Linked DNA regions of Homo sapiens: region 2 is linked to region 1. Evidence: promoter capture Hi-C in human tissues and cell types (Jung and others, 2019). All regions are on one chromosome and are shown on one strand. Each heading gives the region's core, a stretch centred on a gene start or on the middle of the fragment in contact. The rest is flanking DNA. Distances are from core to core; before and after follow the strand shown.

Region 1 (7,025 bases), core at 2,705-5,204:
AGTACCAAAAAGTCTAGAGAAGGCTTCTAATGACTTGAACCCCCTTAAAGAATTCAGAACAAAGGTTGCCACTCACCCCTTTTGGGGTGTTTTGTTTTCTTTGTGGAGTTTCAAGAGTCATGGGTAGATTCTTCTTAACTCTAAACCTCTATTTTCCTGTATTGCATGACCTGACCTCTTTGGCTTTGACCTTGTTGTGTATAGTGGTAGATGAGAGCTACAAAGTTAAGGGGTGGCTGAGCAAGGTTTACAAAAAGTGGTCTTGGCTGTTGTTTTGTTTTCCTTCTAGGAATTTGTCGTTTAAAGATCCTAATTCTAGTTCACAAATGCATTCTAAAGGATCTTCTCTGTTGCTTTTTCTCCCCAAATTAAGCTCAATTCAGCTTGTCTGTGTGCATTTGCATGAGGAACTGAACTGTTGTTTTCAGTGGTGACCCACTGTGGAGTCCTGCCCACAAATGGCACATATTGATCCACCACAGAAAACCTCTAGGCCTCAGCTCAGTTCCTCTTTTTAAGAAGAAAACTGGGAAACAAATAATCTAAGAATGAGGAGAAAGCAAAGAGAATGATTCCCTTTCAAGCACTCCATAGGTTTTATGGCACCTGTACTTGCCAGAGTTTAAGTAAAATGGAAGTAATATGGTCTTTGTGCATATTTACATTAAGAAAGAAAGGGCCCATGTAAATTAGTTCAACCATTGTGGAAGACAGTATGGTGATTCCTCAAGGATCTAGAATCAGAAATACCATTTGATCCAGCAATCCCATTACTTGTTATATACCCAAAGGAATACAAATCATTCTACTATAAAGACACAGGCACATGTATGTTTATTGCAGCACTATTTACAAGAGCAAAGACATGGAACTAACCCAAACGCCCATCAATTATAGACTTGATAAAGAAAATGTGGTACATATACACCATGGAATACGATGCAGCCATAAAACGGAGTGAGATCATGTCCTTTGTAGGGACATGGATGAAGCTGGAAACCATCATCCTCAGCAAACTAACACAGAAACAGAATACCAAATACAACATGTTCTCACTCATATATGGGAGTTGAACTTTGAGAACACATGGACACAGAGAGGAGAGCAACACATATCAGGGGCTGTTGGGGGGTGGGGAATGAGAGGAGGGAATTTAGAGGATGGGTCAATAGGTGCAGCAAACCACCAAGGCACACATATACCTATGTAACAAACCTGCACGTTCTCCTGCATGTGTATTTCATTTTTTTTTAGAAGAGAAAGAAAAGAAGGAAAGAAAGCAAGCAAGCAAGAAAGCAAGCAAGCAAGAAAGAAAGAAAGAAAGAAAGAAAGAAAGAAAGAAAGAAAGAAAGAAAGAAAGAAAGAAAAGAAAAAGAAAGAAAAGAAGAGCCTTAAGGTCAACCTACAAACTACAGAGTTCCTAAGTTCTCTTTTTTCTCTATTTTCTTTTCTGCCTGCTTTAAATCTGCTGTTATTTTTCTATTAAGATCAAAACCACTGTTTGGATACAACAGGCTTTTTGTTTGCAACCTGGTGAATTTGTATTTGTCTCATGGCTAAAGTTCTGAAGTAAAAGCTATAGGATTTCTGTGTGTGTGTTTGTGTGTGTGTGTGTGTGTGTGTGTGTATCTATTTAAAAGGCCTTTATAATTTTTATAATTTTATGTTTAATTGGCAATTAAATCCATTTTGACTTCCCTCTAGCACCACCAGACTTTTTCTCTCTGTACCTTATGATATAATTTTGCTATTTGATTTTTGCCTGAGTTGTTTCCTTTAACATGCAAACTTAAGGCTATTTAGCTGACAACTCCCTAGGGGAGTAAAACAGGTTATTAAGAATTTGAAAGCCTAAGATAGGGGAAAAAAGCTCCTTAAGTATCTATACGATGTACTTCTATCAGCATGCCTACTATGTCTATATATTTATGTGATGTGTACACAATTTCTCGCTACTGAAAATATATAAAAGAGTTCTAATTAATTGGCTTAAGATAAAAAGCACTTGAATCTAATACTTTATCAGGAAAAAAGAAAAGACTAGTTGAATGCTTTCTGAAGTTTATGTAACAAGTAAAATCTTTAATAAATAAGCTAGCTTTAAAATTATTGGTAAAGTAATATTAGACATGTCTTAAAAATTGCCAGCATGCATTTTTGTTTGCATTTATTAATCAAGCAATTTCATGCTTATCCCTGTCAAATACCATAAGGTGTCAAAATTTGCCATGGAGTTACAAAACTGTAATAGAATGATCTTTGCTTGTATAATCTTTAATAAATAAGACATTGATATTGGTTTAATAAAAATAGTCACATCTTGAATTTAGTGAGATTACTGTAACTTCTAATTTTGTGGTTTTGGTGGTCTAGTCCACAGGCAGTAAGATTTAGTTTGAGAATGAACTGTTATAATCTTTGTTTCAAAGGTAAACTATAAACTATGTTCCTCTCAACGTCTGTTCAGCCTGTGCCCAGGATTGAACAAGAACAGTTTGGAGGTTAGAAGCAAGATGGAGTCAATTAGGTCAGATCTTTTTCACTGTCTCAGTTATAATTTTGCAATGGCAGTTCCATAACTTTAAATGATGACTATTGCAGTTTTCATAAATAATCTAGGTAAACAATTCCTTTTTAAAAAGGTGAACAATTGTCATCTAATTCAATGCTTATTTAAAGATTATGTATAAGACAAGTTAAAAGGAACCAGGAAATCAGAGAGATGTAAAGAAAGGTATAAAAATAAAGAGGATAAAGAGGGTTCTTTTTGGTAAGGAAGCTTAAAGAGAAATAATTTCATATGAGAAAAGATCTTGTATGGTAAATTTAGACCTAAAATAAAATGATTGTTTAAGAAAGATGGATGTTCAAAACAAACCAGAAAGTCCAAGCATATCATGAACAGTCTGTAAAAGTCATAATAAGAGGATTAAAAAAAAAACCAACAAACTTTTATATGGTCAAGTTGTCTGTAATTAAAAGGAAATTATAATAGTCTTCCTGAAGATTGGGCTTCATGTAAAAAAAAAAAAGCAATGATAAACAAAATAGTTAGAGCGATGAAATTTTCTTAAGGGATTGATTTACTCTTATTAAATTATAAGAGATTTTAATTTTTTTAACCCAAAGTTCAACTGTTTACTCGCTGTTTTCTCTCCCCTTCAACTCGTTTGCAGCTCATATAAGTTATTTTCCTTAAATTCTATTTGTTATGGTCTGATGCTAACAATGTTTTCTAAAAGTCTAAAGAAAATGTTTTCTTCCAAAGTAATATTCTGTGCAGTGTAGAAGGTCTTTTCTTTTGCCTTTGGGTAATTGACCTAACAGATTTTATGGCTTATTGAAACAATGCTATGCTGTTATTATTAATTTTTGATTTGCTCAGGAAAAAGTATCTGAGATAATTTTTTAAAATTAAGGTTATTACATCCATGTATATTTCTGTAGGTGCTTTGAAAGTACCTGTGACATTAAGTTACAGGCCTTTGACTCCTGGGTCTAAAAAGGACACCAAGGTCTGCTAAATCTTAAGCACTGACAGCAATTAAAACCTCATCTTCAGGCCTGGTAGAAGATGCCAATCAAAATAAACTGCATTCCTGAGACATAAGGCCAGAAGTAAAAGCTATTCAACTCCTCAAGGCTCAGGAACTACCACAGAAGAGGTAGGCATGTGAGATTGTAAGGGCTGATTTTGAGAGACAAAATAAGTTCAGTTTCTCTGCAAGTTAATAATTGATGTCAAAGGCACACTGATGCAATACCAGCATACGGGCCCCTGCGTCAGATTAAAAAGGTTTTCTTGAAGTGTTAACCGACCCCTTAATAAAGGTTATAAAGGTTAAAAAAGGCTTATGGAAGCTGTATCTTATGGTCAAGATTAAAATTTTAAAGATTGATAATAAAATTTCAAAAAACAAATTTAATTGGCTTTATGCTGTTTTATTTGGGCTTAATGTTTGAAAAATTGACTTATTTTATGATGACCTATCAAGTATTTTAAACTTTTGATATTTGGCAAAGTTTCCAGAATCAAATTACAAGTTGTGTATTTTTCTGACCTAATTAATCCTCTAAGATATTAGTTTCCCTAAAGTCCAAAAATGAAATAAATGACTTATTTGGTATAAAAATTATACAGGAAGCATTGTCAAATATAAAATGGTGTTTGGTTTTCTTTGGGCTGTATTTGTATAAAAATGTTATTGGTATGTGCACCAAAATTATGGGAAACTCCTATAATTCTGATATGACATGGTGTACAATATCACTAATAATTATAATTGTTATATAAAATTATCGTGTGCCACAGTGGTAACAAATTTTCTTGTCAATTGTGTCTTTGATTATGGCTGACCTAAAACTTTTTGTCACCCATGGACAATTGTTTTGTTTTAGTCCTTTTTAGAAGATGGTTTTATAATCAGCTATAAAACTCTAACACGTGTTCTTGAAGGCAAGTTTCTAATAACTTTGGAGACTGTGACATCAGAATGGAGGAAAAGCTTTCAGAACTCATGGAGACCTGAAATGTTCATGAATAGCAAGCAGAACAGGAATTAACTGCATGAACTGAACTAATAGAAGAGCAACGTAATCTTTTTGACTTTTTGCTTAAAATGTTGCTGCTCCTTGTTTTCCTTTTTTTAGTCAAGGAAACTTTTATTTGAGCTGTTGTCAGCTTTTAACAAGTTAGTATACTCCTGTGAAAAATATTTGGAGCATATTTGTTTCTCTCTACCTGATTTTCCCCAGAATTGGAAACTATCTGTGAGTATTCTTAACTTATGGCAATACAGTTATTTGCATAAGTGCAATAATAATCTGTTTTCATGTGTAACAAGACACAATTGGAGAAATTGGTCATTTTACCAAGGCTTTGACTGGAATGGTGTGCTCTCCTTTAAGGAATCAAATTTGACTTATGGAGCCAATAAAAGCCCCTTGGGAGAACTGGCCTCATACCTTATCTACACAGTCCCTGTACAGGGTTCCTGACCTGTGGTAAGTAAAGCATGTCACTTTCTAACAGTTCCAGGAGCCCCAAGTTTATCTTGGAACCTCAAGAGCAGAGGAATTCATGCAACTCATAGGTATTTGATGGTACAAATCCATGGCTAGGCTAAGCTTTCCAAAAGTCTTATCCGAAATTCCTTCTATGGAACAAAGTTCTGATAGGGACAGGGGGCTGAGAAATTCTAGGCAGAAAAGGGTAGGTCTCTGACAAAACCCCACCTTCAAGCTGAAAAGCCTTAAACCACGGCCCAAAGTGAGAACTTATATCCCTGTTTTCCTGCTTGAAAGTTGCCTTTTTCTAAACCACTCATGGCTCCATCCTGTCCATCCTATGCCTGTGAAGATGCCAGACTCAGCTGGCAGAGGCAAGAAGCAGCTGGACATTGGGAACTACAGCTGGACGTCAGAGAGAAGCAGCTTGATTCAGAGGGACAGCTTGATGGTGTAATCTTGGAGAAGAATCCAGCTGGATACAGCCTAACTTTGAGGAAGATTACCTACCCACCCCATCCTTTTTCAGCTCCGCTTTCTGCTAAGAGCCACTTTCATCAGCAACAAAATCCCCCACATTTACCATCCTTTGATTGGTTCATGTGACCTCACTTTTCCTGGACACAAGACAAGAGCTTGGGAGCCAGGAGAGCAGATACAAAAGACTGTCACACTGGCCCTCTGCCCTTGCTGGTGGAGGGCAGCTGCCTCACACAAAAAGGCAGAGGCCTCACTGAGCTGTTGACACTTAAGCCATCCATGGAAGGCAGAGTTAAAAGAACACTGTAACATGCCCTCTGGGGCTATGGGGGTCGCAGGCACCCCCACCTAGATGCTGCTGTGGGGCCCACACAGAGTTTGCTCCTGCCGGTGGCCAAAAGCACTCACTTTGGCTCCTGCACTGATTCACCTGCATGCTTCCTCCCACAAGCAGGGGACTGCAGCAGGTCCCAGTGAGTGAAGTTTGATCCTACCGTGCTGCAGTGCCGATTCCAGCACACGTGCACTCCAGTTCCTGCCTCATTTGCTTGCATGCTCGCTCCTGCAAGGAGTTGAGAGTGGCAGGCTGAATAAACGAGGCACCCGTCACAAGTCCCACAAAGGGGTCAGGGAAACATCCTGCTTCAGTTCCATCAAAGGCAATTTAAAAGCTTATGCAAAAAAAAAGTATTACTATGGCTGCGCTGTATACAAATAATCAGGTCAAGTATAATAAAGAAAATCAGCCCTGCCATGATTTGTCTTTAGTAAAAATGGGAAATGGGAGAGAGAAGAATTATGTTTCAAAAAATGATAATACACCTGTTGTTAGATTCTAGTCTTGCCTAATGTTTTCCCATTTTTATTATTTTCTACAGTTTCCACTGAATTCTAATTTTTCTTGGCTACAGGTCTTCAAAAGATTGTTTTCAGTTTTTTTTTCTTCTTCTTTCCCCCATTTTTCCTAATTTGGAGTCACTGAAAACTCATCTGTGCTTTTGTAAAGCCCTGCGAACTGGAGCTAGAGAATTTAAACTTCAGAAGAAAATACCAGCAACCTGTTTACATACATAAGCCACTTTCATACCTGCCTACTGATGTATGGACTTCAGAGTAATGTGGCCCATATTGATTTTCCAGGATTGTTCTTTTGTTTATTTTTGTTTTTCTCCCTTCCTCCCCCTATTTTCTCTTCATAGGACATGAAACTTCACAACCTGCTAAAAATGAACTTTCCTAATAACTCAGGAATTATCTTTCTAGGAATAAACAATCCTAGCCATGAGATATCAGATGAAACTTGAGACCAAAGACTGACTTTCTTCAAAAAGGCTTTCTCAAAAAGATTTTTAAGAAAAGGGGGGAAATTTGAAAGGAAAATAAACCTTGGGGCCCTGAAATCACTAAGGTAAAGGGGAAAGTCAAGCTGGGAACTGCTTAGGGCAAACCTGCCTCCCATTCTATTCACAGTCACCCCTCTGCTCACTGAGTTAAATGCATATCTGATTGCCTCCTTTGGAAAGGCTAATCAGAAACTC
Region 2 (7,025 bases), core at 442-2,941, 510 kb after region 1:
AGGAGGGGTACCCTGAGATCCTCCGCCAGCTGGCCCAGGCTGCCCAAGGCCACAGCTAGGACTCACTTGGTGCGGAAGTCATCAGCAGCCAGACGGGCATTGTCAATCTGTAGCAGGATGTTGGCATTGTCCACGGTGGCTGTGAGGATCTGAGGAGAAGGGAGAGTAGTCAGGTCATTGGATGGGGGTGGCTGAGCCCACACCAGGGTTCTGAGCAGATCTTCCTGCCTCAGGGCCTCTCTTCTCGCCCAGCCCCTCCCTTGCCCCGTGCTGTATTATTGGCAGAGGAGGGGCAAACAGGAGTCTGAAGGGCTGAAAGGTGCCTCTTCTTCCCCCGATACTCAGTACCCCACCAGACCCCCATGGCAGGCTCGGCCTTAAAGGAGAAGAGACAGCTGGCTGGGAGTATGAGGCAACCAGAAAAGAATGGGAAAATGTCCCCAGGGCAGAAGCTGTCCCAGAATTCTAGAACAAGGGAGGGGATGTGGGCAACCCCCTCGTTTTACAGTCAGCTAGAGGGTGCCCCTGACAGGCTCCCCCAAAAGGAGGCTAAAGGAGCCCTCATTAAAGAGTGGTTCCAAATCAAAAGTCAGGACCCCTCCTAATCCCTAACCCTGGGCGCCAGCCAGCAGCCCCGCCCCCTGGGGTTTGCTGAGCCCGTCTTAAGGGACAGCAGGAGGAAAGGAGAAGCCAGAAAAATCCCCAAATAAGGCACATCAGAGGCCTTCCCCACACTGAGGTCCCGCCCCCTCCTTTCTGCCTCCTCCTGCAGCAGGTGCTATCAGGAGCTCACTCAGACACCCCCACTCCACATCACCCAAAACCCCCTCCTGTTGACCCCTGCTCCAAAGGAGCAAGACACCACACATCCAGCAGCCCACGGGCCCAGCCCTCCATCTGCATCCTCCTGCCTCATCCTACAACCTCTCCAGGTGGCGGAGCTCCACGAGGGAGAAACTGAGGCTCCAAGGGGCTCCACAAGGCCTCTTTGTTCCTGACTCAGCTTGCTGTCCCCAGAAAAGGGGGATGTGAGCCACACAGGGGCCCCAAGGCAGGTTCCCAGAAGCTAAGCCACAGCCAAACCACCCTTGGCTCCCTGAGACCCTATGGCTGGACTCCAGGCCTTTGGCCAAGGCAGGAGTTGGGGGGAAGAAGTCATGCCCCCCGGAGACCCCTCCCACCAGCAGGCCCTACCTTGTTCTGCAGCTCCTCAATTGTCCTGTAGTACTGGCTGTAGTCACGGGCGGGCCCCGGGGCCTGCCTCTGGTACCAGTCACGGATCTTCACCTCCAGCTCAGTGTTGGCCTCCTCCAGGGCACGCACCTTGTCCAGGTAGGAGGCCAGGCGGTCATTGAGGTTCTGCATGGTGGCCTTCTCACCTCCAGCCAGCAGCCCATCAACACCCCCAAAGCTGCTGCCATAGCCACCACCAGAGCCAAAGCTGTAGCAGCTGGAGTAGCTGCTACCCCCGAGGGTGCTGCCCAGGCCGCCAGCAGATCCCAGCCTGCAGGAGCCGGCACCCAGGCCGCCAGACAGCCGGCAGGAGGTGCGGGACGAGCCGCCCCCCAGGCCGGAGGAGCCCTTGATGGAGCTGGAGGAGGTGAACTGGCGGATGGAGGTGGTCATGGTGGCGGCGGCAGGAGGCAGGCACACAGGAGAAGGGCTGGAGAGGAGAGGGGCCCCAAGTTGTGTAGGGCTGCCGGGGTTCGCCCGCTTCCTTTATAGGCCACCAAGTGGGCGTAGCGATTACAACAGGCTTGCTCCTCTGTTTCCATTCCCCTGGGCTTTCATCACCACTGGCCACCTGCCAGCTCCCAGGTGGCTGGGGGCCCCCTCCCCGCCCATCATCAGGAATTTGCCTCATTTCTCCAAATCCTCGTGCTGAGTGCCGTGCGTGTGCGTGCCTCTGGTCTCAGGCCCGTCACCTGTGATTCAGGCGGGCCCTCCAGCTATGCTTTCCCATGACCTAATACGGAGAAGAGGAGAAGGCAGGACGTCACCGTCCCCAGGCCCTCCCAGGCAGCCACCACCCCAGCCTGGCCCGCCTCAACCCTGTCTGGTGGGGAAATGGGTTGCAGTGTCAGCTGACCCCCCCGCCAAAGTTGCTGTCTTTCACCCCACACTGCTCCACCCACGGTGCTGGCCCCGGGGCTGGGTGCTGAAGAGAAAGAGGAGACCGAGAGCCTATCCTGCCTTGGAAACTGAGCCCAAACCCACCAGGCCCACCTCACAGCATAGAAATGCCATCAAGCCTCGGAGACCAACCCACATCACAGATAAAGAAATTGGGGCTCCAGAGGGGTGCCGTGTCCACACTGGCCCCTTCTGCAGAGCCTGACACCCAGGAATGCACTCTAGGGGCTACAGTTCCATCCAGTCAGCTTCTGACCCTGCCCCATCCCTAGAAATCCTTGCTAACCCAGTCTCTTCGTGTAAACCTTTCCCCAGGTTTACACTCCAGGCTGGGGTGGGCAAACAGGGGCTCAGCTATAGGATGGGGAAATGGTGGGCTGTGCCAACTGAGAGGGGGATGCCCCCTTCCACTCCCCTCACCCTTCTGTACCCCAAGAGACCTCAGGGTCAGGTGACGGGTATTTATCTCAGGTCTCAGCCCACAGGAAACCTAAAGGACATTGCCCAAGAAGAGGCTCTTACAGAGACCCCAGCCAGCCCCCTTCCCACTCCAGGCTCCCCAAGATGTGGCTCCTCAGGTGGGCCATGTGCCCCACCCCACAGCCCCACCCTGCCCTGCCCACCACCCCAAGCCCGGCCCTGGGTCCCAGGGTCCCGCCAGGCCCGCTGGGTGGAATGTGGTCATGTTTCAGACTGCCGATGGCTTCCACTTCCCAGACAGGCCCAGACGGCCCCGCCAGCAGCCGAGAGACATTCCTCAATAGCCCAGTGGCTGCCAAGCCACCAAAGCAAACAGGATGCCCCCTACGCGTACACGCACAGCGGCCACCCCGCCCCACACACACCCCGAGCTGGGGCAGAGCCGGTCTGGTTTCCTGGGCTGGCTGCGTCACTGCCATGCCCTCTCACTCATCAATGCCATGGACCACTCCTTCAGAAGCCCCTCCCCACCAAGCCCCTCTCCTTCTGCTCTTGAACCCGCCCTGGGCTGAGGCAGGGAGTGCTCCCCAACAGGCACCATCCTTGGAAAGTCTGTGTGGCCCTCCCAGGGACCAGCCACAGGTGACAGGGACTCAGGGGCTGATTCTTAGAAACTTTTCCCAATACAAGGGGCTGTCCCATCCCTCCACCCTTAATCTTTCCGCCTCCTCCCCTCTCATCTTTCCAGGAGCCCCAGGCCTGGATGGAGTGGGCAGAACAGATTGGCAGGTGACAAGCCCATACCCAAACACTCAATAAACTCCACCTCCCCCAGTCCCTCAGCCCACACTGCCCCAAACCAATGAGCAGATCAGATCACACGAGGCATTGAACTTGGAGCAAAGCTTTAATAGTAGGCACTGGACAAACCCAGGAGGCCTCCTCAGTGAGGGGCTGCAGAAAGTAGATACAGAAAGACAACAGGCCATGCACCGGGGCCCAGACGGACACTCGGGGCGTGGCAGTAGCATGCTGGGAGCTGGAGCTGATGGCTGTGCCGTGGCCCTCGAGGTGGGGCTGTCGCAGACAGAAAGGGGTCTCAGTGGGTGGAGAAGTGGACCTGCTCACAGAAGAAGACCACCTCTCCAACCTGGACTTCCTCCACGATGGCACACCTGGTGGCTGGTCACTGTGGCTGCAGGCGATGGAGGAGGGAGGCACAGGGAACATCAGGCAGGAGCTCTTCCCCCCGCCTGCCCCCGCGTCTGTGGTCCCCCCAGTCTCCCACACAGAAGGGTCCTCAGCCTCTCCCCTGCCTTGGGGTCCACACCGCAGGACAGGGCAGCTTCTTACCTTCCCGGGTGGGCTGCGAGGCCAGGGACAAGGAGTACTGAGTGGCCAGCCTGCAGGGAGAGAAGCACCCATCAGCCCAGGGATGCCAGCCAGCCCAGGCACCTGCAAGCACTGCTGGGGAGAAGTAGGCCCTGGCAGAGGAGGTTCCCCTAAATTGGTGAAAAATCACAGTTGGGAATGCACAGAAATTAGCGCAGGCCCAAGAATGAAAGGGCAGGGGTTCAGCACAGCAGGAAGAAGAAAAAGAAACAGCACAGCAGTAGGTCTGGCGGCACTCTGTGGCTACTCACCAGGAATTTACAAGGAGAAGCTGAGCAAGTGGTTTTTCCATAACCCAGAGGGCCCAACAAATAGACCCAATTAAAGCAGGAGAGACTGTTGTTAGACTATAGATGGACTTCACCATTTCCGGGGAGCAAAAAGCTGCAACGTGTGACTAAGCATGGAGACTCCGGGACACTCTCAGCTGAAGGCCTGATCACCCTTCCCAACTGCAAACCCAACCACCACCCACCTTGCTCTTCACCACTCACACAGTCATCAGAACCAGAAACCCAGGGCCATCAATGCCTGCTCCTTCATGTGTTCTCCCGACACTTACTGAGTCCTGACTGTGAGCCATGCTTACCCCGAGATCCAGGCATCCAGTCCCGCTGTTTTGAGCTATAACCTCTCTTCTGCGTGCACCACCTTCCTTCCCCTGCCCCACTACCCACCACCGCACGGGACTTCTCTGGCCAGACTCCCTGCTCCAGCCCCCTGACACATCTCTCTGGCCCCGCCCTGACCCCTCTGATCCATTTCTCCCTCTGCAGCCAGAGTGAATGTTCTAAAATCTCTTGATGTTCATTTCACTCTCCTGCTCCAAATCCCTCCATGGCTCCCCATTGCCTACGTGATCTAGTCCAGACGCTTTAACTTGGCATTCAAGGCTCCTCAGCCAGACTCCAGCCTGCATCGTCAGTATCACCTCCTGCAAACCCCAACAGGTTCCGACATTCACACCTCCTGAATTTCGCTGGTGCTCAGACACCAACTTCTCCCTGGGTGAAGCGGGCCCCCAGCCCACCCCAACAGGCACCCTGGTACACACTCACTGGGCGTCCTCAACCTCCAGCAAGCGGCGGTAGGTGGCGATCTCCTGCTCCAGCCACGTCTTCACGTCCAGAAGGACCTGTGCTTGTGGTCCTGGTGCTCCGTGTCGCAGCAGAGCTCGCACAGCTGCTGCTCCATGCTTCTGTTAAGCCCCTGCAGCTGGGCCGGCAGGGTCCTGTAACACACCTCCATCTCCACCAGGCTGCCCTCCAGCGATGCTTTCTGTGGGCCAAGAGATAGGTGGTGTGATGAGCTGGACCTGGGACCCTTCCCCATGGCAGAGCACTAGAGAGGAGCCCCTCCTGTATGGGGCTGTGGGTGCTGCCAGCACAATGAGGTGGTAGTGCACCCAGCCACTGAGTGTGAAGGGACAGGCTGGGTGGGGACTCTGGTTCCCCAAGCAGGGGTCTACAAGGCTGGGCTCACCCTGGGGTGACAGGTACAGGGTGGGGAGGGGACAGAGACCCTACCTTGCTGAGCTGGGACGGCTCAGGTTCTGCACAGAGACGTAGAGCTCCATATCTCTATCCAGCCACTCTGCAGGGCCTCTGTGTTGGTGGCCACCTCGCAGTTCAGCCCCTCTTTCTGGAAGGCAGAGTGGGCCACAGGGGTTTATGGAGACTTTCAGAAGCGGGGCACAGGAAAGGGCTGCTCCTGAACCCTCACCTCCCAGAACCATCCCCTAGCCCCTCCCTGGCCTCTATGGGGCCCCAAAGGCACCTGCACACAGAGAGCCTCTGCACCCACATTGGAACTTGGAGGAATTCAGCCTGCTCTGCGGTCATTTGCATTTCTTTTTCCTACTGAACTGCAGCACCTCAAAGACAGGCACTGGGTGTTATTCTTTTGCGCCTGTTGCTGTCCCTAGGATACCGGAGATACTCAGCCTGTGCTTGCCAAGGGTATACATATGTATTCAAATACGCACATCCTGTAAACAGCTGTGGTGGAAACCCAAGACCAGACTTGTAGAGACCTGGATCTATTTTGCAGGCCACAGTGAAGGGCTGTGTGAGCTTGAGTCCTCTCTGAGCCTCACGTTTTACATCTAAAACATGAGGGGCTGGTCCAACTGGTTTCCAAAAGTCCTTCCAACTGGGACAGCCTGTGGATCTGCCAGTGCTCCAGCTGCACCAGCATGCAGCACATGTGCCCACACGTGTACACACCTGCTTACGCACGGCCACCCACCATGCTGAAGAACCAGCCCTCGGCATCCTTGCAGCTCTTCTCCACCAATGTCTTGTCCTGGTCACGCATCTCATTCAGGATGCAGCTCAGGTTCACTCCAGGCACAGTGTCCATCTTCACACTGACATCCTCATCCACCTGACCTCAAAGGACGTTCATTTCCTGGGCAGAGAGGACAGCAGAAGCTCACCCAAGGCCATCCTGGAGAAAGACCCTGGGGCCTGCCTTCTTTCCCTCGGAGAGACAGGTACAGATGACAGACAGACAGACACAGATAGGCCAACAGCTCCTCACCCTGAAGGTGGAGGTGGATGTTGTCATTTCTCAAACATACAGGGCTGTGAATATTAGCAACCTCCCCCAACACACACCGTGACGCGGGACTGGAATTCACCCATCCCCAACAAGTGCTAAGCCCCGAGAGATGACAACCCCCCAGCACGGTGGAGGATGACCACGGGCGACCTCACTCACTGCCCTGACCTTGCCCCCACCACTGCCTTGCCCCCACCACCAAGCCCACAGCACAGGCATGCAGAAAGCAACCCTACGCTGTGTCACTGCGCCAGGCCCCGTTAGCAAATGTTAATCTGCTGGAGGAAAGCAATTGTATAACCAGCCTCAAAGCCAGGGGGAAACACCTTCCGGGTGTCCTGCTTCTCGGGGAGTAGGCTCCCCCAGCTCAGAGCAGCACAGAGCTCGGCTGAGAAGGAAGACACAGGACAGGGCATGTAAGGCCTCCTGACTGCCCCACAGGACCTTGGATCTCTATCCTTGGGTTGAGCTTTGGAGTCCCTGCGACCTAGAGCCTTCTGGAAAGGAGAGGCAGGAGA

The links. Contacts are between HindIII fragments. The study calls those that stand out against the background at their distance.
Region 2: a contact is called between the fragment with the promoter of KRT17 here and a fragment that was not itself captured in region 1, in 2 of the 25 tissues and cell types used here (H1 embryonic stem cells and mesenchymal stem cells).

The regions. Positions count from the first base shown.
Region 1 is chr17:41,108,750-41,115,774 of GRCh38, forward strand. It overlaps LOC124904002 (a long non-coding RNA gene), which reads left to right. Exons shown (of 2, transcript XR_007065754.1): 2 at 1,255-3,921. Among named protein-coding and RNA genes, the nearest start is that of KRTAP4-11, 6.1 kb to the right of the region's middle. The HindIII fragment of the contact is 6,500 bases long and covers 705-7,025 here.
Region 2 is chr17:41,622,884-41,629,908 of GRCh38, forward strand. It overlaps KRT17 (keratin 17), which reads right to left and starts at 1,692. Exons shown (of 8, transcript NM_000422.3): 1 at 1,195-1,692; 2 at 67-149. The coding sequence starts at 1,626. It also overlaps the pseudogene KRT42P. The HindIII fragment of the contact is 8,196 bases long and covers 1-6,052 here.